5 separate regions of the Homo sapiens genome follow, and all the other regions are linked to region 5. Evidence: promoter capture Hi-C in human tissues and cell types (Jung and others, 2019). All regions are on one chromosome and are shown on one strand. The core of a region is centred on a gene start or on the middle of the fragment in contact, and the rest is flanking DNA. Distances in the headings are between cores, read along the strand shown.

What was found. Contacts are between HindIII fragments. The study calls those that stand out against the background at their distance.
Region 1: a fragment that was not itself captured here is called in contact with the fragment with the promoter of STAC2 in region 5 in 2 of the 25 tissues and cell types used here (spleen and stomach).
Region 2: a fragment that was not itself captured here is called in contact with the fragment with the promoter of STAC2 in region 5 in 6 of the 25 tissues and cell types used here (IMR-90 fibroblasts, bladder, dorsolateral prefrontal cortex and 3 more).
Region 3: a fragment that was not itself captured here is called in contact with the fragment with the promoter of STAC2 in region 5 in 2 of the 25 tissues and cell types used here (dorsolateral prefrontal cortex and spleen).
Region 4: a fragment that was not itself captured here is called in contact with the fragment with the promoter of STAC2 in region 5 in 2 of the 25 tissues and cell types used here (dorsolateral prefrontal cortex and spleen).

What each region holds. Positions count from the first base shown.
Region 1 is chr17:39,043,011-39,047,656 of GRCh38, forward strand. It overlaps the pseudogene LRRC37A11P. Among named protein-coding and RNA genes, the nearest start is that of LINC02079, 18 kb to the left of the region's middle. RefSeq lists an enhancer at 3,066-4,265. The HindIII fragment of the contact is 7,953 bases long and covers 1-4,646 here.
Region 2 is chr17:39,364,793-39,369,384 of GRCh38, forward strand. The region is part of intron 1 of FBXL20 (F-box and leucine rich repeat protein 20); the gene reads right to left. Among named protein-coding and RNA genes, the nearest start is that of FBXL20, 35 kb to the right of the region's middle. The HindIII fragment of the contact is 6,030 bases long and covers 1-4,325 here.
Region 3 is chr17:39,019,222-39,024,225 of GRCh38, forward strand. The region is part of intron 1 of LOC105371767 (a long non-coding RNA gene); the gene reads right to left. Among named protein-coding and RNA genes, the nearest start is that of LINC02079, 5.4 kb to the right of the region's middle. The HindIII fragment of the contact is 5,779 bases long and covers 703-5,004 here.
Region 4 is chr17:38,983,911-38,988,429 of GRCh38, forward strand. No RefSeq gene overlaps it. Among named protein-coding and RNA genes, the nearest start is that of FBXO47, 19 kb to the left of the region's middle. The HindIII fragment of the contact is 7,886 bases long and covers 1-4,519 here.
Region 5 is chr17:39,223,608-39,228,580 of GRCh38, forward strand. STAC2 (SH3 and cysteine rich domain 2) reads right to left here and starts at 2,338. Exons shown (of 11, transcript NM_198993.5): 1 at 1,806-2,338. The coding sequence starts at 1,895. RefSeq lists an enhancer at 1,596-2,096. The HindIII fragment of the contact is 22,351 bases long and covers 1-4,973 here.

The DNA.
Region 1 (4,646 bases), core at 2,098-4,597, 180 kb before region 5:
ATCTAATGCACCACATGTGCAATGTTAAAGTATAAATCATAAGCCAGTATCTTCCACAGTGAGATTTCTTTAGTGCATAAAGTATTGAGGTTATGTTCCATCCTATATAAATTAGAATCAATGCAAGTGATACATGTTCTGAAAGAACATACATATTTTTCTTCTTTGGCTTGTGTCTTTTTTGGTAGGAATCTTGGTTGCAATTTACTGACAGAACTGAGCTTTGGAACCTTTCAGGCCTGGCACGGAATGCAGTTTTTACACAAGTTGTAAGTGAAATAGAAGATGAATACATGTAAACAACTATTTACATGTAAGAACCTCATACAATTATTGGTTAGCTGGGTATAAGCCCATTATGGATTCTGAAAAGCATGTCTTAAATCCATTCGTTTTTTCAAATGGGGAAACTAAAGTACGAAGAGGCCAAGAAACTTATATAGTTTATATATGACCTGCCCTGCTTTTCCTAGTTCTGACCTTTGGCATGGGCAAGAAAAGGCATGAAACAAGTGACCCTATTGGCACAATGGTCTCAACACAGCAAATGTATGTTGGGGGCTGGGCTCCTTTGTTTTGGGTCGAATCTTTCTAGTAAACAGAACTAATTTGCTTCAGGAAACATTTGCTGCAGTGAGATATATGCCCATTGCATTTCTTTCCAAAGGCAAGTTGCCAAGCGAAGCTGCCAGTAATTTTGTGACCGATATGACACTATTCTGTGGTGTTTGTAAGTTGAAACAGTATATTTTATTGCATTACAAAAGTTTGTTAAAAAAAAAAAGGGGGGGCCCCAGCTGTGGTGGAATGATGATGAATTGAATAGAGCCTCAGCATCAGGGCTTCTCACTTGCACGGTCCTGGGAGGCCCTTGGGAATCGTTGTATTCATACTTTTCCATGTTTTTATTATTAATAGGTAAGGTTCAGGCCCCATAAAATCCTGAAATCACCCTGGGTTCCAATAATTACAATTTTGAATGAAGCCTCTATGTTATTGACAAATACTGATCAGCCGAGTTAGCGGTGTGGTAGGGTCAGTCTATTTTGAATTTGAAACCCATCCCAAGGATATAGCAAGAGCTTATTAGCGGACTTAACTGGGGTCCACTGGCCCAGCACAGTAAAGCCAAACCATTCTGAGGTTTTGCAGTGGGAGAAAGGAGCACATTGGTTTGCAGGGCGCCAAGCAAGGAGGACCAGGCAGTTAACAATCAAAGTCCCCCTCTGAATGGTAGCAATAATCATATCTCTTACAGATGAAATCAGGAATGAAATGGTCTATGGAAAACCAGCAGTGGTTGATAATACTAAATGTTAAGTATGTACATATTTTTTCCCTGACTTTAAAGTGCTTCTCCTTCATTTACCTACACAGGTCCGGATTGATGGCTTATTTTAAAAAATTTTCTTACTCACTTCATTGGTTCTAATAATACAAGCTCCATAATTTTGGAAACTGAATGACTCTGCAATGTAGAAAGGCTATACCTTGGCCCGGCGCGGTGGCTCACGCCTGTAATCCCAGCACTTTGAGAGGCCGAGGCGGGCGGATCACAGGATGCCCGGGCATTTGTAGAGAACACTGCCAAAGAAAAAAAGGCTCAGGAGTCCAGCCCCAAGGGAGCTGGAACAGCCTCACATGGTGCAGGGGCCAAGAAGTTAGCCAAGAACTACTTCATTTCCCACCCCCCATCAAATGATGCCAAGGAGACTAACTCCGAAGAGGACTGATGTAAAATGCTTCTGCCCAGCATGGGTGTTCACTGCACGAGAGCACTTGGCCAAGGGGGTGAGTGGGGCTGAAAATCCTGCTCAGGCTCCATGCTGAGCCACATACAAAGTCTCCCCGAGACATTGTGGGGCCCTTCTGGACAGACATGGAGAGCTTCTGAAAGTCCCGCATGCTTGGAATTATTTTCAAGACCCCAGGTATGTGGTCTGCAGTGGTTCTAATCACTGTTACTATGGACTGAGGTACTCATTTAGTCCTAATAAGACCAGAGAAGTACATTGTGAGAGGCGTGGGAACGGCAGCATCACTCACTGTCTTGTCCACGTGTCTCCCCGGAGGCATTTTCAGATTTCTGCCACATAGGAGATGCTCATGGCGAACTGAAACTCAGGTACATTGGAGGATTCATTGCTGTGGCCAGAGAAAGCAGAGGACATGCAAAATGCATATTTCCCTATCCTCCAGGATGGCTTTGTCTAGTTAAGACAGCCACTCTGGCTTAGGGGTATGTACAGACCTCCCAGTGCTGCACGCGTGAAAAACATGGCACAGAAACCTCACGGCAAGGAGTCTTCCAACAAGGATGACATCTTTCACAAGGACGTGGAGTAAACGACAGAGCCTTCGTGGTTCCCATCTAAAATGAAGAGGGAGTGAAAAGTTGAATTGCTCCTTTCAAGAATCAACAAGCTTGGCATTTTAATTCCTATCCCAGGGGCAGTGAAGCCCCAACAGAGAAAACTCAAACCAGAAAGTCGTCTGGCTGCTGAGCGGGAGGAGTGTGAGGTCCCCTGGGAGGACCTCAGGCCTCAGGCCTCTGCAAACTTGGGAAACTGCTGCTGAGGTCCTTCCAGCTCCATGGTCCCCAGGCTGGTGACTGATGGGGGAATATGGAGTCCAGCTGACTACCAGAGCCTGCATGTCTGCTGCTAGCCGGGAGGAAAGGATGACTTCTACCTCCTTTCCATATTCCAAATTTTACATGACTGCATTTTTTTGGCAGCACCCTGCTGGCAAAGGAGACTTGACGTGTGGTTCCTGGGCTTCTGTCACCTGCACAGACAGGGGTGAAATGAGTGTCACAAGCAGCCACCACTCTGCAGCATACCTCCACATCTAGGCGTGGTGGGGAGCCCCACTTATACTTGGAGGTGTCCTGGCACCCTACCCACTTTTTGGTAGGTGTTTGGGTGTCCAAGGCTTTGCAGAAGAAGCAGGCAGGGAGTCTATGGTGGAGTAACGTGGTGGAGAGGCCTGGAGAGGTGTCATTCTAGCTGGGCAGCGGGTGACACGCAGTCATCCCCTCAGTGAACGCTGGACGTGCTCTGTGGCTCCCTGCAGGCCTGCGGATCCACCAGGGGGCTCCGTTCCTTCTGGGCCAAAGCTGAAGAAGCGGCTGCTGCACCAGAGAAGTGCATCTGGATGAAGGTGGAAGCACACGCGGGCCCGCAGAACCGCCTAAGATATCTTCAGGTGTGGGCTTGGAACTGGTAGGCTTTCATTTCTGCTTCATTCCATGGCCAAAGCAAGCCACATGGGCAAGTCTGAAGCCGGGGCAAGAAAGTATCCTCCACCCACAACGAAACCATGGCAAGCGGTAGGTACTAAGAGGGCTGAGGAATTGAGGCCAATAGTTCTATCTATCCAAGTGAGTGAGGAGCTCTGCTTTGGGGATTGCACAACCTGGGTCTGCTCTTGCTGTGGTGTCTGTCACTATGAACATGACAACATGGATCGCCATCAGGTCAGGGACCCTGACAAGGCAAGAATCATGTCCTCCTCTGCACACAACCCCACTCCCTTCCCCACCATGCCTAACACCAAGCCTGGCCCTCAGGGATGACTCAGGAGAGCATTTTAGGCCATTCCTTCATTATCCCCATGTGACTTGTTGATAAAGATAAGTGCCTCTTCAAGTTCACCTTTTTGAATAAAAGGGATTTATTTAAATATTTCTTTTAAATCTCCACAGCTTTTCATATCTCACACTAACAGATCTTTTATTCTACTAATAATTCTTTGTTAAGCCCAAGTAGTTGTTAAATGGAGTAAAAGAGTGAGTATATTCTGTGTTCTTATATTGTAACCAAGGCCTATCTCATTTTTTCCCTAAGTCTGTCCAGACATGCCTGAACATGCCCAGGCATGTCCCAGCTTGCAGCCTATGCCCCTTCCTTATTTGGAAATGTTATTGCCTTCCTAGTTTCCTGTAAAAAGTCCCCTCCCTTCCTTTGTTTCCCATTGCACCTTTACCTATTTAGGAAAATTTCAAGGTTTTAGCCAGTCGGGATCAGTTTAGATTGTGAGGTGCAGCTCCAACCAGTGGAGGTAGGACACAGCAGTAGAAGCCCAGTGCGTCAGGGATAAGAACTCCTGCCTTTCTTTGTTCAGTGTGCTCTCGTGGCAGTCCAGCTTCCAAGAAGCACCCTTTCTGCAGAAAGTAAATTTGCCTTGCTGAGAAAATTATTTAAGTGCTGGTTCTTCTTTGCAGCACTGAGGAACAAGCATTTGTTTGCAACACTTGTTATGAAATATAGACTGGGCTGGGCGTGGTGGCTCACACCTGTAATCCCAGTGCTTTGGGAGGCTGAGGCAGGTGTATCACCTGAGGTCAGGAGTTCAAGACCAGCCTGGGCAACATGGTGAAACCCCATCTCTACTTAAAATACAAAAATTAGCTAGGCATGGTGGCATGTGCCTGTAATCCCAGCTACTCGGGAGGCTGAGGCAGGAGAATTGCTTGAGCCCAGGAGGTGGAGGTTGCAGTGAGCTGAGATTGCGCCATTGCACTCCAGCCTAGGTGACAGAGACTCTGTCTCAAAAAAAAAAAAAAAAAGAAAGAAACATAGACTTATTTCCTAAAGATCAGCACATAGTGCTAAGTATTTCCCCTGTAAGCTGTAAACAGACTC
Region 2 (4,592 bases), core at 61-2,560, 140 kb after region 5:
AAAGGTCTCAGAGTATAAGTGAGGCCATCTTAGACACGTAAGCCCCACTCAAGTCACCAAATGACTGCAGTCTTATGAGCGACCTATTGGGGAGATGGCAGGACCGTCAGGCTGCATAATGAATTGTTTTAAGCCACAAAGTTACAGGGTGGTTGTTAAATAGCAAATACTACAAAAACAGGTTCTCTATTGAAGAAGTTTATGACTCACGATCTAAATTTCATAGATTAAGAAATTTAAAAAAAGAAATTTCATAGATTAAGCAAAATTTCTAACATACAAAGGTAGCCCAATACAGGTCAAATCTTTTGGTGGTAGGAAAATGTTAATGAGAGATTAAGAATCAATTTTCATTAAAAAAAATCCAGAGTTGAAGCTGCAGAAGATTTTTTAAATGTGTATTTTTCCTATAAGTAATTTTTACTGATTATGCCATTCCTTCATTCAACCAACACCAGATGTTTTTTCCAGTTGGCCAGTTTTCTTGCCCGAATCTAAAAGGAAAAACATTTTTGTTTGGCCAGATAAACCTAAAACAAAGTAAGTTTATAATTCCTCCGCCCAACATCTTGTCCCTAGCAGAAATAAAATTGCTTTTTAGAAGCTAACTACTGCCAGTGCATTGCCGTCTCATGACTAAACTTCTCCTAAGAAAGAAATCACTAGATAAAAACATTACGGAAGGAATACATTTAGCTAACAGACACATTACTTAATAGGTCAAACTTTCTGCTTTGGACACCTTCTAACATCTGACTCAATATTCTGAGCTTTCTTTTATGCTGACTTCTGTTTCATTTACTTAACCCAAACCTATGTCCACTACCAATTCACTGCTCTCAGTCCAAAAATAGAGCATCTACACACTTTTATTTTTTTCTTTTCAGTATTTTTAATTTATTTGACATTAACCATCCTCAGCAACAGTCTAGGACCTGGAGGATTCCATGAACTCTGAAGAACTGAATATGACTGAATCTCATGTTGAACTGGTGCTGCTTAATCCTGGAAATGTTCCATGCCCTACTGAAAACTTCTTTTGAAGTTATGAAGTGAAAGGAAAGAAACTAAAATTCAAAGTGACAATATTATTTCATGTCCACCTCTCCTCCTCCTTCCTCCATTTCCCTTAGTTTCACTTCATCTGTAACACAGGAAAGAACTAAGAGGTGGATACTAAAAGACAACAACGGAATTTAAAAAAATTTTTTTTTTTTTAGAGATGGGGTCTCGCTATGTCTGAAGTAGACTGGCTATTCACAGGAGCGATCATAGTACACCCTCAAGCAATCCTCCAGCCTCAGTCTCTAAGGTAGCTGAAATTACAGTACATGCCACTGCTTCTGGCTGTATTCAGTGTAATTTTCTCACAATCTTTGTTTAAATTAAGCGTCCGTGTGAATATTTAGTATTTAGATACTACTCAGTGTCAGGACAAGCAGACAATAGGACTATGGACTCTTTCTCACCCTACATATAGGCTATCATATTTTTTTCTACTTTCTAGACTCTTTTCCCTCAACTGCTCCAAAATCTGTCACATCTGAATATTTTCCATATGCTCAAATGCATCAGATACTGTTTTTCTCTGGTGCTAAACATTCCCAGAACACTTTCTTTTCCTACACTCTAAGAAATTCCCTAGACTGGCTACACAACTGTCATCTTGGGCTCTCCAGTAGCTCTTCTCTTTTATTGCATTGTTTCCAGTACCCCATATTGTCTCACTTGCTTTTTAAGGGAACATCTCACAGTAATTTATGAAAAAACAGCTCATGGGAACTCAGGTTTTTAAGTCTCTTGCATGTCTAAAATATGTATTTACCTTAGACTCACATCTGATTGATAATTTGGCTTGCAATAAAATTATAAGATGAAAATCCTTTCCACTGAAGATATCTGAAGACACTGCTTGATGCATTTCTGACCTCGTAAGTTTCTGCTGTGATATATAATGCCATTCTAATTTGGGGTCCTTTGAATGTAACCTCTAGTTACTTTTGGAAGCTTTTAGTATATTCTCTTTATCCTCAGTTTACCAAAATTTCATCATCAAGCCTCTTGGTCTGAGGTTATTATTCTATCAGTCCTTTTTTTTTTTTTTTTCCTGAGATGGAGCCTCGCTCTGTCAGCCAGGCTGGAGTGCAGTGGCACAATCTCGACTCACTGCAAGCTCTGCCCCTGGGTTCACGCTATTCTGCTGCCTCAGCCTCCCAAGTAGCTGGGACTACAGGCACCCACCACCACGCCCAGCTAATTTTTTGTATTTTTTAGTAGAGACGGGGTTTCGGCGTGTTAGCCAGGATGGTCTCGATCTCCTGACCTCAAGATCTGCCTGCCTCAGCCTCCAAAAGTGCTGGGATTGTAGGCATAAGCCACCGCGCCCAGCCTATCAGTCCTTTCAATCTAGAAGTTTATATTTTTCAATCTGGTAAATATTTTGGAAGTTTTTCTGGTTTCTCTGTCCTCTCATTGTAGAATTCCTATTAGTCAAACATTGGACCTCCTGGTTTATCTTTTTCTTTTCTTTTTTTTTTTTTTGGAGATAGAGTCTCACTCTGTTGCCTAGGCTGGAGTGCAGTGGCGCAATCTCGGCTCACTGCAACCTCCAACTCCCAGATTCAAGTGATTCTCCTGCCTCAGCCTCCCAAGTAGCTGGGATTACAGGCGCCCACCACCACACCCAGCTAATTTTTATATTTTTGGTAGAGACAGGGTTTCACCATGTTGGCCAGGCTCATCTCAAACTCCTGGCCTCAAGTGATCTACCCACCTCAGCCCCTCAAAGTGCTAGGATTACAGGCATGAGCCACCATACCCAGTGAATCTTTAATTTGTTAAATAATTTTTCTCCTATATCCAAATTGCTTTGACTTTACTTCCAAATTTTTACTAATTCTTTTTGGGGGACAGAGGATTATCATATTTTAAAATTTTCAATAAGTTTCTATTTATTGAAAGATTATTTATATATATATATATTTTGAGAGTCTGGCTCCATCAGCCTGGCTGGAAGGCTGGAGTGCACTGGCCCAATCTCAGCTCACTGCAACTTCAGCCTCCCAGGTTCAAGAGATTCTCCTGCCTCAGGCTCCGGAGTAGCTGGAACTACAGGCACGCCCCACCACACCCAGCTAATTTTTTTTTTCTTTTTTTTGTACTTTTGGTAGAGAAGGGGTTTCACTATGTTGGCCAGGCTGATCTCAAACTCCTGGCCTCCAGTGATCCGCTGGACTCAGCCTCTCAAAGTGCTGGGATTACAGGTGTGAGTCACCACACCCCGCCTGTGAAAGATTTTTAAGAATAGTATCCTAGGCCAAACACAGTGGCTTACTCCTATAATCTCAACACTTTGGGAGGCCAAGGTAGGAGAATCACTTGAGGCCAGGAGTTCAAGACCAGCCTGGGCAACACAGCGAGAACTTATCTCTACAAAACAATAAAATAAAATTACACAGGCACAGTGGTGCACTCCTGTAGTCCTAGCTACTCAGGAGGCTAAGGCAGGAGGATCACTTGAGCCCAGGAGCTCAAGGCTGCAGTGAACTATGATCACACCACTGCACTCCAGCCTGGGCAACAAAGCAAGACCTTGTCTCTAAAAAAACTTAAAAATTTTTAAGAATGAAAAAGAAAGACATTTCACCACTACCTGATTTTAATCTCAAGCCTCATCTGTTTCTTAAGAGACCTTTTCCTACCAAGTCCTAAGTCTCTTTCCTACCAAGTCCTGAGTTTTGTTGAGTATACTTTTTGTTGCTGTTCAGTATACTTGCTTCTCCCTGACAAGCCCCTCTAAAAACAACAAAGGGTGTAGTTTCCTCCGCTTAGCTAAATCACTTAACACCCTTCTAACTTTTTTGTTTGTTTTTTGTTTTATTGAGATGGTGTCTCGCTCTGTTGCCCAGGCTAGAGTGCAGTGGTGCAATCTTACCTCACTGCAACCTCTGCCTCCCGGGTTCAAGCTATTCTCCTGCCTCAGCCTCCCGAGTAGCTGGGACTACAGGTGCAGGCCACCACACCGGGCTAATTTTTTGTATTTTTAGTAAAGACGGGGTTTCACCATGTTAGCCAGGATGGTCTCGATCTCCTCACCTCGTGATCTGCCCACTTCGGCCTCCCAAAGTGCTCGGATTACAGGCATGAGCCACCCCGCCCGAACCCATTTTTTTAATCTTCTAAAAAATAACTGAAGTTTCTCATGTATTGTGGTTTCTTCTTTCACTCACTTTTGTCCCTGTGATCTCATGTTTCTTTTGTTCCCTTATTATCATTTTAATGCTATTTGAAGAAAGGAAATAGGTATATTGGATCAAACCTCCATGTTTAACCAAAAGTACTATGCAATAGTTTTAGAAGTACTGGATAAAAATCATAAAGTACAGTATATTTACCAACCTTGTGGAGATTACAAAGCTCATTAGAATAAATAATGCCTCAAACAACAGAATTAGAATTCAATGCTTTTTTTTTTTTTTTTTTTTTTTGAGACAGAGTCTCTGTCGCTGAGGCTGGAGTGCAGTGGTGTGATCTTGGCTCATTGCAAACTCCACCTCCTGGGTTCAAGCAATGCTCCTGCCTCAGCCTCCTGA
Region 3 (5,004 bases), core at 2,342-4,841, 200 kb before region 5:
TGCTGATGGAGAAGCTGCAGCAAGTTGTCGAGAGATCTAGCTCAGATCACTGATGAAGGTGGCTACGCTCAACAACAGATTTTCAATGTGGATGAAACAACCTTCTATTGGAAGAAGATGCCAGCTAGGACTTTCATAACTAGAGAGAAGTCAATGCCTGGCTTCAAGGGATAGGCTGACCCTCTTGATAGGGGCAAATGCAGCTGGTGACTTTATAGTCTTTTACCTTTCTAGAAATCCTAGGGCCCTTAATAATCATGCTAAATTTACTCTGCCTGTGTTCTATAAATGGAACAACAAAGCCTGGATGTCAGCACATATTTATAGCATGGCTTAGCAAATATTTTAAGTTTACTGTTGAGACCTACTGCTTAGAAAAAAAGATTCTTTAAAAAATATTACTGCTCATTGACAATGCACTTGGTCATCCAAGAGCTCTGACGGAAATGTACAAGGAGATCAATGTTGTTTTCATGCCTGCTAACACAACATCTGTTCTACAGCCCATGGATCAAGGTGTAATTTCCACTTTCAAATCTTATTATTTCAGAAGTTCATTCTGTAAGGCTATTGCTGACATAGATGGTGCTTCCTCTTGGGTGGGCGCGGTGGCTCACGCCTGTAATCCCAGCACTTTGGGAGGCCGAGGCAGGCAGATCACGAGGTCAGGAAATCAAGACCATCCTGGCTAACATGGTGAAACCCCGTCTCTACTAAAAATACAAAAATTAGCTGGGCGTGGTGGTGAGTGCCTGTAATCCCAACTACTTGGGAGGCCGTGGCAGGAGAATTGCTTGAACCCAGGAGGCAGAGGTTGCAGTGAGCTGAGATCACGCCATTGCACTCCAGCCTCGGTGACAGAGCAAGACTCCATCTCAAAAACAACAACAACAATTTAGAAGAAGTTGATTCCAATGCTTATGGATGACTTTGAGGAGTTCAGACTTCAGTGGAGAGTAACTGCAGATGTTGTGGAAATAGCAAGATAACCAGAATTAGAAGTGGAGCCTGAAGATGAAACTGAATTGCTGCCATCTCATGATAACACTTGAATGGATGAGGAGTTGCTCCTTTTTTTTTTTTTTTTTTTTGAGATGAAGTCTGGCTCTTGTGCCCCAGGCTGGAGTGCAGTGGTGTGATCTCGGCTCACTGCAACTTCTGCCTCCCGGGTTCAAGCGGTTCTCCTGCCTCAGCCTCCCGATTAGCTGGGATTACAGGCACTTGCCACCATGCTCAGCTAATTTTTGTATTTTTAGTAGAGATGGGGTTTCACCATGTTGGCCAGGCTGGTCTCGAACTTCTGACCTCAGGTGATCTGCCTGCCTCAGCCTCCCAAAGTGTTGGGATTACAGGCGTGAGCCACCGCGTCAGGCCAGGAGTTGCTTCTTATGGATGAGCAAGGAAAGTGGTTTCTTGAGATGGAATCTACTCCTGGTGAAGATACTATGAACATTGTTGAAATGGCAACAAAGAATTTACAATATTCCATAAGCTTAGTTAATAAGCAGCAGCAGAGTTTGAGAGGATCAACTCCAATTTTGAAAGAAGTTTTACTGGGGGTAAAATGCTATCAAACAGCAGTGCATGGTACAGAGAAATCTTTTGTGAAAGGAAGAGTCAATCAATGTGACAAACATAACTGTTGTCTTATTGTAAGAAATTGTTATGACCACCCAACCCTTCAGCAACCACTACCCTAATCAGTCAGCAGGCATGACATTGAGGCAAGACCCTCCACCAGCAAAAAGATCATGACTTGCCAGAGGCTCAGATGATTGTCAGCATTTTTTAGGCAATATTTTAAAGTTAAGGTATTGATAGCGGCAGGAGGCAGACAGATCCTAGGCAGACAGGGGTGGGTCCCCAATGAAAGCTGACCTCCAAACCAGACAGTTTAAAGGCTGAAAGCCAAGCTACAAGTCTTGGATAAATCCGTGGACAGATTGAGAACCTCTCTTTCTGTTTGGCACGCTTTCCTCTGATCGATCCCTGCCTTTAACCTATTTTACATATGCCTACTCTTCCCTGTTTTTTTACGCTGTGCCCATCTTTAAGTGGTGCCTTTTTTTTTCAGCCTTTTTGGCATACTCACAAACCAGTCAGCACACACTCTCCCATTCTGAACCCATAAAAATCCTCTTCAGTCCTGGTTCCACTTCCTGTAACTGAAACAATTACCTGCGAGGTATTATTTAACTTTTGGACTATGATGTTTCTAACCTGTGACCATTTCACATAGCCATTCAAATATAAAGGTACGGTAAAGATTATGAAACGGGTTGGGTGCAGTGGCTCATGCCTGTATTCCCAGCACTTTGGGAGGCCGAGGTGGGTGGATCATGAGGTCAGGAGTTCGAGACCAGCCTGAGCAACATGGTGAAACCTCGTCTCTACTAAAAATACAAAAATTAGCCAGGCGTGGTGGTGCGTGCTGTAATCCCAGCTACTCAGGAGGCTAAGGCAGGAGAATTACTTGAACCTGGGAGGCAGAGGTTGCAGTGAGCTAAGATCGTGCCACTGTACTCCAGCCTGGGCAACAGAGCGAGATTCCATCTCAAAAAAAAAAAAATGAAACAGTTACTTGGTATCATTTTGTAAGTAATGAGTTTTTAGTGCTCTTTGGACATTGAGACCATTTCATAAGATTTAGGTTTTGAGAATTTCACAGCATAAAGCCCATCACTGATGCAGCAATGAAGGAAATGTTCTACAACTCAACAGACAGGTGAGAGGAGAAATGTAATTCATATTAGATTTATTTATTTACTGAACTTAGAGCCTGGGGTTACTACTCGACCCCCACTGTTATCTAGTTTAAGTGTTCTTTTCTACTTTAGCACATACACCTAGTTTCTGTGTTTTTTGCCTTTTATAAATACAGAAAAGAGAATAATGTTTTAAAATAAAATCAAGGAAAGGCCTAAGGCACCTGAGAGGGTTTTGTTTTTGTTTTTGTTTTTTTTTTTTTCAGTGAAATGAAGGGAAATTGTTGCCAGCAAGAACTGTGGCAAGGTTATCCAAGGTGACAAATGTCTGTACCACCCAGCAGCTCCGAGTCCTTCTGAAGCATCCTGGTTGTCCAGAAAGACTCCACCGTGACTCATGATACCGGCCAGTCTTCCCGGTAGCACTCAACATTCGAAAATTAGTCTTCATTTCTCCTTCCCAACATGCATTTCTCCTTCTCTTCAGTTGGAGAAAGTAATTTAATTTTTTTTTTTATAGAGTCTCGCTCTGTTGCCCAGGCTGGAGTGCAGTGGCGCAATCTTGGCTCACTGCAAGCTTCGCCTTCTGGGTTCACGCCATTCTCCCGCCTCAGCCTCCTGAGTAGCTGGGACTACAGGTGCCCGCCACCACACCCGGCTAATTTTTTTTTTTTTGTATTTTTAGTAGAGACGGGGTTTCACCGTGTTAGCCAGGATAGTCTCGATCTCTTGACCTCGTGATCCGCCCGCCTCGGCCTCCCAAAGTGCTGGGATTACAGGTGTGAGCCACCGTGCCCAGCCTTACATCACCAATTCTTTCTTATATGTCTATTTTTTAAGTGTAGTATATGATTATATTCATGAAATTCAAATGATACAAATGAAGTCAAATCTATTTGTATTAGAAATTAATAAGAATTAACAGTAAAGTTAATTCTTTATTGATTTGCACACCTATAGTTGCAGCTACTTGGGAGGCTGAGGCAGGAGAATCGCTTGATCCCGGGACGTGGAGGTTGCAGTGAGCCAGGATGGCGCCACTGCACTCCAGCCTGGTGACAGAGCGAGACTCTGTCTCAAAAAACAAAACAAAACAAAAAGAATTGATGATGTAAGAAATCCACAGGAATGTGTAAATTATTTCAAGAATTAACACTCAGTAGATACTTGCATTCCCAAATAAGCTTATAAATGCAGATGAACCTCTAGTTGTTTTAGTTGCTTGTAAAATTCATAGAGGTACGTGTATTTCTTCATTTAACACGGGTTAGTCACTTGGGGAGGGGGATGGGTGTTGGGTTCTTTTTACCTGTTCTTCAGGTCACATACTCAAGCAGGAGCTACTGAATGGGAAGACTGAAACAATTTCTTTTCTTTGCACACTTGGTATTGATAAATGTCAGGTGTATGCAAAATAAAATCTCTGGCAGGTTGTGATATTTATGGGTCTATCTCTTGTGACTGTAGTTTCGTCTCGGCACCAGACATAAGGCAGTTCAATGTCAGGCCATTGCCCTAAACAGTTCCCGATGCCAAGAACTGACAAATTGCTACTTTGGTTTCAATGGATGGTCAAAAGGGATCATCAGGGCAAACCTTGTAGATTTTCTTTCACCAACCCTATTCTCCTTTCAACATTGAAATCCTAGACTTTAGACAGAAATATTGAACTGGGTTGTAGTGAGGAGATATGAGAGGCCTCCTGCCATTGAGGATAAGTGGATATGTCTGAATTGGCCTGCTACCTAGAATTAATAATCTCAATCACTTGGAGGGTGGTATCCATAATTTTCTCCACTATTTGTGCCACCACACCCGGCTATTTTTAGTAGAGATGGGGTTTCACCATGTTGGCCAGGCTGTTCTTGAACTCCTGGCCTCCACCTGCCTCAGCCTCCCAAAGTGCTGGGATTACAGGCATGGGCCACCATGTCCAGCCAACCAAACCTTTTTCTCTTTTTCTTTCCTTTTCTTTCTTTTCTTTTCTTTTTTTTTTTTTTTGAGATGGAGTTTCACTCTTCTTGCTCAGGCGGGAGTGCAGTGGTGTGATCTTGGCTCACTGCAACCTTTGCCTCCCGGGTTACAGCGATTCTCCTGTCTCAGCCTCCTGAGCATCTGGGATTACAGGCATGCACCACCACACCTGGCTAATTTTTGGTATTTTTAGTAGAGACGGGGTTTCACCATGTTGGTCAGGCTGGTCTCGAACTCCTGACCTCAGGTGATCCTGCCGCCTCAGCCTCCCAAAGTGCTGGTATTACAGGCGTGAGCTGCCGCGCAGGCCGTAAGTATGATTCTT
Region 4 (4,519 bases), core at 34-2,533, 240 kb before region 5:
CTATAGTGCACATAATTGTGCCTGTGAATACACTGCAAATTAAAACCTGGGAAATATAGCAAGACCCTGTCATAAATAAATAAATAAATAAATTCCTTGAAATATGTCACACTATGCAGATTTCACTATGCATATTATGCTCAGTGTAAGCAAAATTATTTTTATTTTTGGAGACAGGGTCTTGCTCTGTCACTCAGGCTGGAGTACAGTGGCACAAATCATGGCTCACTGCAGCCTCAATCTTATAGGCTCAAGCAATCCTCCTGCCTCAGCCTCCCAAAGTGCTCGGATTACAGATGTGAGCCACTGTACCTGGCTGCAAATTTAATTAGACATAAAAATATAATATTAAGTTATGATAGAAAAAGCTTTGGGATATTTCCAGAACTTCCCCTCTCTCCACCTTTTTTTTTTTTTTTTTTTTTGAGACTGAGTCTCCCTCTGTTACCCAGGCTGGAGTTCAGTGGTATAATCTTGGCTCACTGCAACCTCTGCCTCCCAGGTTCAAGCAATTCTCCTGCCTCAGCCTCCTGAGTAGCTGGGATTACAGGCACCTGCCACCACACCTGGCTAATTTTTTGTATTTTTTAGTAGAGACAGGGTTTTACTATATTGGCCAAGCTGGTCTTGAACTCCTGTCCTCAGGTCATCTGCCCACCCTAGCCTCCCAAAGTGTTGGGATTATAGGTGTGAGCCACCGTGCTCTGTCAATCTGTCAATTTTTTTTCATTACAAAGTCAAAGACAACCAACCCAAAATTTTAAAAGCTCATATTACAAAACGAAGAAACACCAAAGCAGTGTTATAAAATTTGTGTTACATTAAAAAAATTTATGTTTAATAAGTTAGAATTCCAAACCAAGGAATACATTGCAATATAACTGTGCCAGTCATAAGGTAATAATAGGACATATGAAATATTAATTCACAGGGCACTAAAGAAAGTGTGTGGGCTGGTATTGGGACATATGCTTAAGGCTGTATAATGAATATCTTCATTTCTTCTTTTTTTTTTTTTTCAAAGCAACAACATAAAGTTGTAGGGATATCTTCATTCTTGCTCATTTTTGAGACTGTTGTGCTCTCATTTGGAGATGACGTCAAAGTTTGAATTTGATGACCCTTTGTGACAATGGGGGCTCAGCTAAGCAGCTCTCTGGACTCCCATTATAATAAGCTGTACATACTTTCTGATGTAATAGTAGAGATACTTGGTACTTTATCCTAGAAAAATGTTTTTATTATCAAACATGACAGGCTACTTATGTGGCTGTATTTTATTTATTTTATTTATTTATTTTTTGAGACGGAGTCTTGTTCCATCACCCAGGCTGGAGTACAGTGATATGATCTCAGCTCACTGCAACTTCTGCCTCCCAGGTTCAGGTGATTCTCCTGCTTCAGCCTCCCGAGTAGCTGGAATTACAGGCATGCATCCCCACACCCGGCTAATTTTTGTGTTTTTTGTAGAGACAGGGTTTCACCATGTCGGTGAGGGTGGTGTTGAACTCCTGGCCTCAAGTGATCCGCCCTCCTTGGCCTCCCAAAGTGCTGGGATTATGGGAGTGAGGCACCACGTCTGTCCTGAGGCTGTATTTTAGGTATTGTTCCTTTGTTAACGTTGGAAAATGGCCGAGGAAGCTAATGGGCTGCACGCAGCCAAAGGACATAGTGGCCCGGTTTGTACCCTTCGAGGTACCTGAGGAGCCTCAGTAAAACTTTACCCCGAAAAGGGCCATTTTCTCCTTTTAGCCACTTGCATAAAGAAGAATGATAGTTTACTATGTATTGAAATTGTCCATCACAAGTATTTTTTCTGAGGGTTATGGTCATCACACAGCACCACAAAGGCATTAGGAAAAGAAGCAGTCTAGACAAGTCCAATCAAGTAGATGGCCTTGGTGTTGACACTGAGCCAGATTTACAAATAAAGCCCAAACTTAAACAACAACAAAAAAACTATATTGTTAGGAATGTCTTTTAAAATTACATTTATGGCCAGGTGTGGTGGCTCATACCTATAATCCCAGCACTTTGATAGGCTGACATGGGAGGATCACTTGAGCCCAGGAGTTTGAGACCAGCCTGGGTAACATGATGAAACCAAAAATGTTACCAAAAAATGTAAAAAATGAACTAGGCATGGTGGCACCCACCTGTAGTCCCAGCTACCTGGGAGGCTGAGGTGGGAGGATCACGTGAGCCTGGGAGGTTGAGGCTAGAGTGAGCCACGTTCACGCCACTGCACTCCAGCCTGGGTGACAGAGTGAGACCTTGTCTCAAAAAAAATTATTAAATATTGAAGAGATCAAAATAATATTTGCAAAATATATAAAGTAATAAAGAATCATGATACAATGGACCCTTATGTATTCCCCACCACTCATGTAAGAAACGTGAGGAACAACATCATTGTGAACTTTGAAGTCCACTGGGATTCCCTCCTAGGTCCCCTCCCTTCTTTCTCTCCTTGGAGGTAACCATTATCCTGAATTCATGTTTTTAAATTCCTTTGTTTTTAATTATAGTTTTACCACATGTGTTTGTATTCCTAATATTTATATGTATATAAGTGCTTAAAATTTTAACAGAAATATAGCATGCATACAAAATCATGCATGTTGGCTGGGCGCAGTGGTTCACGCCTGTAATCCCAGCACTTTGGGAGGCCAAGGCGAATGGACCACCTGAGATCAGGAGTACGAGACCAGCCTGACCAACATGGTGAAACCCTGTCTCTACTAAAAACACAAAATTAGCTAGGCGTGGTGGTGCACACCTGTAATCCCAACTACTTGGGAAGCTGAGGCGGGAGAATAGCTTGAACCTGGGAGGTGGAGGTTGCAGTGAGCTGAGATCGCACCACTGCACTTCAGCCTGGGCAATAGAGCGAGACTCCATTAAAAAAAAAGAAAATCACGCATGAAAAAAATGATTTAAGGCTGGGTGTGGTGGCTTATGCCTGTAATCCCAGCACACTGGGAGGCTGAGGCAAGAAGATCGCTTGAGCTTAGGAGTTTGAAACCAGCCTGGGCAACATAGCAAGACCTCGTCTCTACTGAAAAAAAAAAAAAAAAATTAGCCTGGCAGTGGTATGTGCCTATGGTCCCAGCAACTTAGGGTGCTAAGGTGAGAGAACAGCTTGAGCCCAGGAAGTCAAAGCTGCAGTGAGTTATGACCATTCCACTGCCCTCCAGCCTGGGCCACAGAGGGAAACCCTATATCAAAAATAAAATAAAGGGTCGGGCGCAGTGGCTCATGCCTGTAATCTCAGCATTTCAGGAGGCCAAGATGGGTGGATCCTCTGAGGTCAGGATTTCAAGACCAGCCTGGCCAACATGGTGAAACCCCGTCTCTACTAAAAATACAAAAATTAGCCGGGTGTGGTGGTGGCACGCCTATAGTCCCAGCTACTCCGGAGGCTGAGGCGGGAGAATCGCTTGAACTCAGGAGGCGGAGGTTGCAGTGAGCACAGATTGTGCCACTGCACTCCAGCCTGGGTGACCAAGTGAGACTAGGGAGACTCCCATCTCAAAAAAAAAATTAAAAAAAGTAATTAAAAAAAACAATAAAATGAACACACATGAATCTTTTGCCAGTCAAGCAAGAGAACATTGTCACGTTCAGGGAGCCCATGTGCCACTTCTCCAATTGCATCTCCTTTCTTCTTCCGAGAGAAGAATACTATCTGGAATTGTACTAACCACTTTTTATAGTGTAAAATATACACAACATGAAAGTTAACATTTTAACCACTTTTTTTTTTTTTTTTTTTTTGTGAGACGGAGTCTTGCTGTGTTGCCCAGGCTGGAGTGCAGTGTCGCAATCTCGGCTCACTGCAGCCTCCGCCTCCCGGGTTCAAGCAATTCTCCTGCCTCAGCCTCCCGAGTAGCTGGGATTACAGGCATGCGCCACCAAGCCTGGCTAATTTTTGTATTTTTAGTAGAGACGGGGTTTCACCATGTTGGCCAGGATGGTCTTGATCTCCTGACCTTGTGATCTGCCCACCTCAGCCTCCCAAAGTGCTGGGATTACAGGCATGAGCCACCGCACCCGGCCAACCATTTTTAAGTGTACAGTTCTGTGGCATTAAGTCCATTCACATTGCTGTGCAACTATGACTACCATCCATCTCCAGAACTTTTTCATCTTCCCCAAATGAGACACTGTATCCATCAAACAATAACTACCCAATCCTGCCTCTCCCCAGTCCCTGGCACCACCCATTCTACTTTCTGTCTCTGTGATTTTGACTGCTCCAGCTACCTCATATAGGTAGAATCATTCAATATTTGTCCTTTTGTGACTGGCTTATTTCACTTACTGTAAAGTTGTCAAGGTTCATCCATGTTGTAGTATGTGTCAGAATTTTCTTCCATTTAAAGGCTAAATAATATTCTATTGTAGGTACACCCACATTTTGTTTATCCATTCATCTGTTGATGGACATAGGTTGTTTCTATCTCTTGGTTATTATGAATAATTGTGCTATGAACATGGATGTCCAAATACCATTAGA
Region 5 (4,973 bases), core at 1,088-3,587:
AGGCAGCTTGCTGGAGTACTGAGGCAGCACTACCCCACACTCCTGCCCGCCTTCCAGCACTCCCACATAGGAGGAGGCTGGAGAGGACAGGCCTTGGTGTGGGAAACAGGGCAGGGCCTGGGAGGCCCCCAAGCCCCTGGAGGCAAGCAGGGGGACTGTGTATGTCTACCCAGGTGACTAGAGGGCAACCGAAATCAGGGGCATTGGAACTCAGGGGAGGTTCAGCTCCTAGACCTTCTGCTTGACAGAAGTTGTCACAAATATTCCAAGCAATATCCTCCCACCCAAACATCTTAGTCCTTTCCCAGGAGAGACTGAGACTTGGCTCTCTAAAGGGGAGTCAGCTCTGGCCTCACAGACCAGAGTCTCATTTTTAGAAGGGGGCAAGAGAGAGTCAGGTGTGCATGTGAAGACTTGAATGTGGAGACCTGCTGGGTCCCCTGGTGCAGGATGGGGGCTCCCTGGGGTGCCTCTGCCAGACTCCACCCTGACCCTACGGCCTCCTCCTCCGGTCACTCCCTTGATGACCTTGACCTTGAATTAACCTCAGCTCCTGCGGGATGGTCAAGATGGAAGAAGGAGGAAGGGGGACAGTGGAAAGAAGCCTAGCGAACCCAGGACGCCTCCGGAGCCCAGGCTCCCATCATTTCTGGTCCTCACTGTCCCCTTTCGCCTCTGGAGAACAGGAGCAGGATGGGAACAAAATACCGGGTGAAGGGGGAGGGAGGAGGTCTTGGCCTGAAGTCTGGGAGGTGGCAGGGCGCGCCCTTGGCACAGCCCTTTCTATCCCAACCCCAGGCCCGCTCAGGTTGATCCCGCAGAAACAGAACTTCTCGCGGGCCAGTCGCCAGCACCTAGAACTTGGGAAGGGAGCAGACGGATTAGAGGTCGGGGGAGTGCTGAGTGTGAGCGGCGGCCTCCCCACACCCCTTTCAGCGCCAGGAGTCTGGGCTCCGCCTGCCTTCGCGGGGAGTAATTTATTCATGGTGACTCCCTCAGGAGTAACAATCATCCATAATTAGGGTTAATGATGACATTCATTAATTACGATGACTTCTCTTTTTGCTTCTACCCGCTCCCCCTCCTCTGGTCCCGCTCCCGTGGTGGGGCGCGGGGCTGCCTGTCTTTCTGGTCTGGAGCCACAACCGCAGGCCCCCGTCCTCGCCCGTGACCGACGGCCGGCGCTGCTGCAGGCCCCCTCGCGGACTCCGCAGCTGCGCACCCCCGGCCGCGGCCTCGCGTCCCCGAGCCCAACAGGGCTAGGAGCGGGGAATGCAGGACTGCGGAGGGGCAGGGAGAGACGCCCTGAGACGCGGAGATAAACACCCGGAGACGCCGGGAGAGACGGGGAGAGACGCACACAGAGACACCAAGACACAGACACGCAGGTTGTAGAGACAAATTCAGAGACACGAGCGAGGATAGAGGCGCGGACTGAGCCCGGGACTGGGACCCGGCGGCCGCTGGAGGGTGCGCCTCGCACGCACAGCCGGGCGCGTACCCCGCCCGCACCGCTCCACGCGCGCCCTCCGGCCTCGCTGCGCCCATCTCTCCAACGAAGACCAGTGGCCGCCTCCCCAGAAGGTCGCGATGGCGCGCGCGGGCGTGCGGTGCCGGTGTGATCGGGGGCTCCTTGTGGCCCCTCGTCGCCAACCCACTCCTACCCCCGGGAGCGGCGCGGAGCCTCAGTGGTCACGCGGGCCTCGCGACCGCGACCCTAGGACGCCCGGGCCCACAGGAGGACCCCGCCGGGAAGAGGGCGCCCGGGCCCGGGGCGCGGACAGGCCTTGCGCCCCCCAAGTTACCTTGGTTTCCTGGAGGGCGGAGACGGTCCCTGGGGGGCTGTGGGTGGCCGCGTCATCCGGTTCGTTCTCCTTCTCGCTCATCTCGGTCATGGTTCGGGGAGAGGGGAGGAGAGGGTGCCGAGATCCGACGGCAGGCCCACCGCGGGCAGGCTGCGGGTGGCGGGCGTCTCCGGGACTCTGAAGCCGTTCTCCAGAGGCTGCCCCCAGTTAGCCCCCGGCACGGCAGCCCCCAACCCGCGGGAGCGGGCAGAGAAAGTTGCCGGGGTGGCGGGCGAGGGGAGGCCACCACGCTGAGCCGCAGGAGCGGGACGACCCCGGGCGCGAGGACCGAGGGTCTGCAGAGGATGCTGCTCGCAGCGCGGGGAGGAGGGAAGTGGGGCCGCGGGGATGAGCCGAGGGAGGGAGCCAAGGAGCTGTCCGTGTCCAGCCGGCTCCGCCGTCCGCTGCGCCCGCCCCCCATCCCCTCCCCTCCCCCGCCGGCCCCAGCCCGGCACCCGGCGGCCCCTCCGCCCAGTCCTCGCCGCCCAACTTTGATTTAGGAGGTCGCCTGGTCCCGCCCCCTGCCCTACGCCGCTCCCCCGCGCAGCCCTGCAAATCAGGCTCTCAGCTATTGGCTGCCTCGGTGGCCAGGAGGGCGAACTGGGCGGAGTCTTGGGGGGCTCGACACGATGGGGCGGGGCTTGGCGGGGAAAGAAGCGGAGGAGGGAGTTTCACACTGAAAAACCCGGGATGGAGGGGCGTGACCAGATTGAGGGAAGCTTGGGGAGATCATAGTAGCGTCTGGATGGGTTGCAGGGAATAGAAATAGGTTGGGGCCGCAGCAAGATAGCGGAGAGTGAGATCGAAGCTAGGACTTCCAAAGAGCGAAGATTGATAGATGCCAGAGGTTGGTGAAGGAAGAATGGGGACCCATCTGTGCCATTAATTGGATGCCTTTATACCCTGAAAAGGCTCTCTCCAAATATACACACAACTGGACTATGGTGTATGTGTCAAAGGCCAGGCCGGACAATTCCTCCTTGTGATGGAAAGCCGGATGACTCTATCCCCTTCCAGTCTTGGCGTCTGAACTTCAGCAGAGATGGGGGCTCAGTCCTCACACCCAAAGTCCCCAAACTTCTCTGAGACACGCTCCCCTCCTAAAGATCCTACCACAACTGGAGTTAGATCAGGGGATAATACAGAGAGGTGGGGGAAGAGGTCCTCACCATCACCTTCCAAGGTGCCCCTCTCTCCACAATAACCTTCTATTTTTTATTTTTTTATTTTTTTATTTAGAGACAGGGTTTCACTCTTTCACCCAGGCTGGAGTGCAGTGGTGCGATCATAACTCACTGCAGTCTCAAACTCCTAGGCTCAAGCAATCCTCCCACCTCAGCCTCTCTAGTTGCTGGGACCACAGGCATACGCCACCATGCCTGGCTAATTTTTAAAATTTATTGGTAGAGACAAGTCTTGCTATGTTACACAGGATGATCTCCAACTCCTGGGCTCAAGCGATCTTCTCACTTTGGCCTCCCAACGTATTGGGATTACAGGCGTGAGCCACTGTGCCCGTTCAAGATATTTCCAATATTTCTTCTTCTCCTTCTCTTCTTCTTCTTTTTTTTTTTTTTTTTTTTTTTTTTTTTTTGGAGACAGGATCTTGCTCTATTGGCCAGGCTGTAGTGCAGTGGCTTGATCACACCTCACTGTAGCCTGGACCTCCTGGGCTCAACCCTCCCAAGTAGCTGGGACCACAGGCACATGCCACTGCACCCAGCTAATTTTAAAATTTTTTGTAGAGATGGAGTCTCGCTATGTTGCCCAGGCTAGTCTTAAACTCCTAGGCTCAAGTGACCCTCCTGCCTCAGCCTCCCAAAGTGCTGGGATTACAGGTGTGAACCACCACACCTGACCAAGATACCTCTTCTAATGCATGTTGATTATCTGGGACCCATTTTCTCAGGTCCCCCTCCCTCACCTCCAGCCCTCTTTCCTTCTGCCCCTTCTGGCTCTGACCAGCAGATCTGGCTTCCTCTCTTGGTCTGCCCAAGAAAAGGGAGATGCACTGGTGGCTGAGAGAACCTTTCCCTGGTGTGGGTGGAGAGACTTCTGGGTTTAAGTCTCCCTCCTCCTCTGCTGTGGGTGGTAAGATTGTGGGTGGGGGGTGCCACATGGGGGGCCTGAGGTGCTGAAGGGGGCCCTTATGCTAGCCTGAAAGTTGAGGGGTGGGGTGAACACCTCCACCCCCCACTCACCTCCCCCCATGCACACAGCCATTCATAGGATCTCTGCCCTCCCAAGCACGAGCTCACCATTGGAGCCCTGCTCAGGTTACCCTGTCCAGGAATAGAGATTTATTTGCCAGTGGCAGAAGTAGGACAAGGGCACAGTGAGGGTTCATGGTTGTAGGGGCTCTGACTTCGAGATTTCCTGAGGAAGGTGGGATGGAGCCTGAGTGCCATCAAATCAGTCTCCCCAAAGGCCTGTTCATGGCCAACCTTCCCCCATCTCCCACTGGACTGTCCTTCTCACTCCTGCCCAGCCCAGGCCAGTCCAGCCTTCCCTCCCTGGGCAGCTCAGATGCTGGGATGCTTGCAGCATTGAGACAGCAACATCAGGCCCTCCACTTATCCTGGGCTGGAACACACAGGGCCTTCTTCTGAGTTTGGAGATCTTCTGGGGGAGGTGCCCCTGTCTCCTCCCAAAGAGCAGGGGCTTTGGGTTCCTTAGGGGCCAGTACCTCTTTGGTCACTAATTAAGTGTGTGACCTTGGGCAGATAACTCAATCTTTTAGAGATTTTGTTTGTTTTGAGACGGAGTCTAGCTTTTGTTGCCCAAGTTGGAGTGCAATAGCAGGACCTCGGCTTACCACAACCTCCGCCTCCTGGTTCAAGCGATTCTCATGCCTCAGTCTCCCGAGTAGGTGGGATTACAGGTGCCCGCCACTACATCCAGCTAATTTTTTGTATTTTTAGTAGAGAGAGGTTTCACCATGTTGGCCAGGCTGGTCTGGAACTCCTGACCTCAGGTGATCCACCTGCCTCACCCTCCCAAAGTGCTGGGATTACAGGCATGAGCCACCGTGTCTGGCCTATAGCCTTGGTTTCTTCATCTGAAAAATAGTCATCGTGCCTACCCCACTGCTAGAATGAATGAGATAGTGTAGAGTGGCACTTAGCCCAG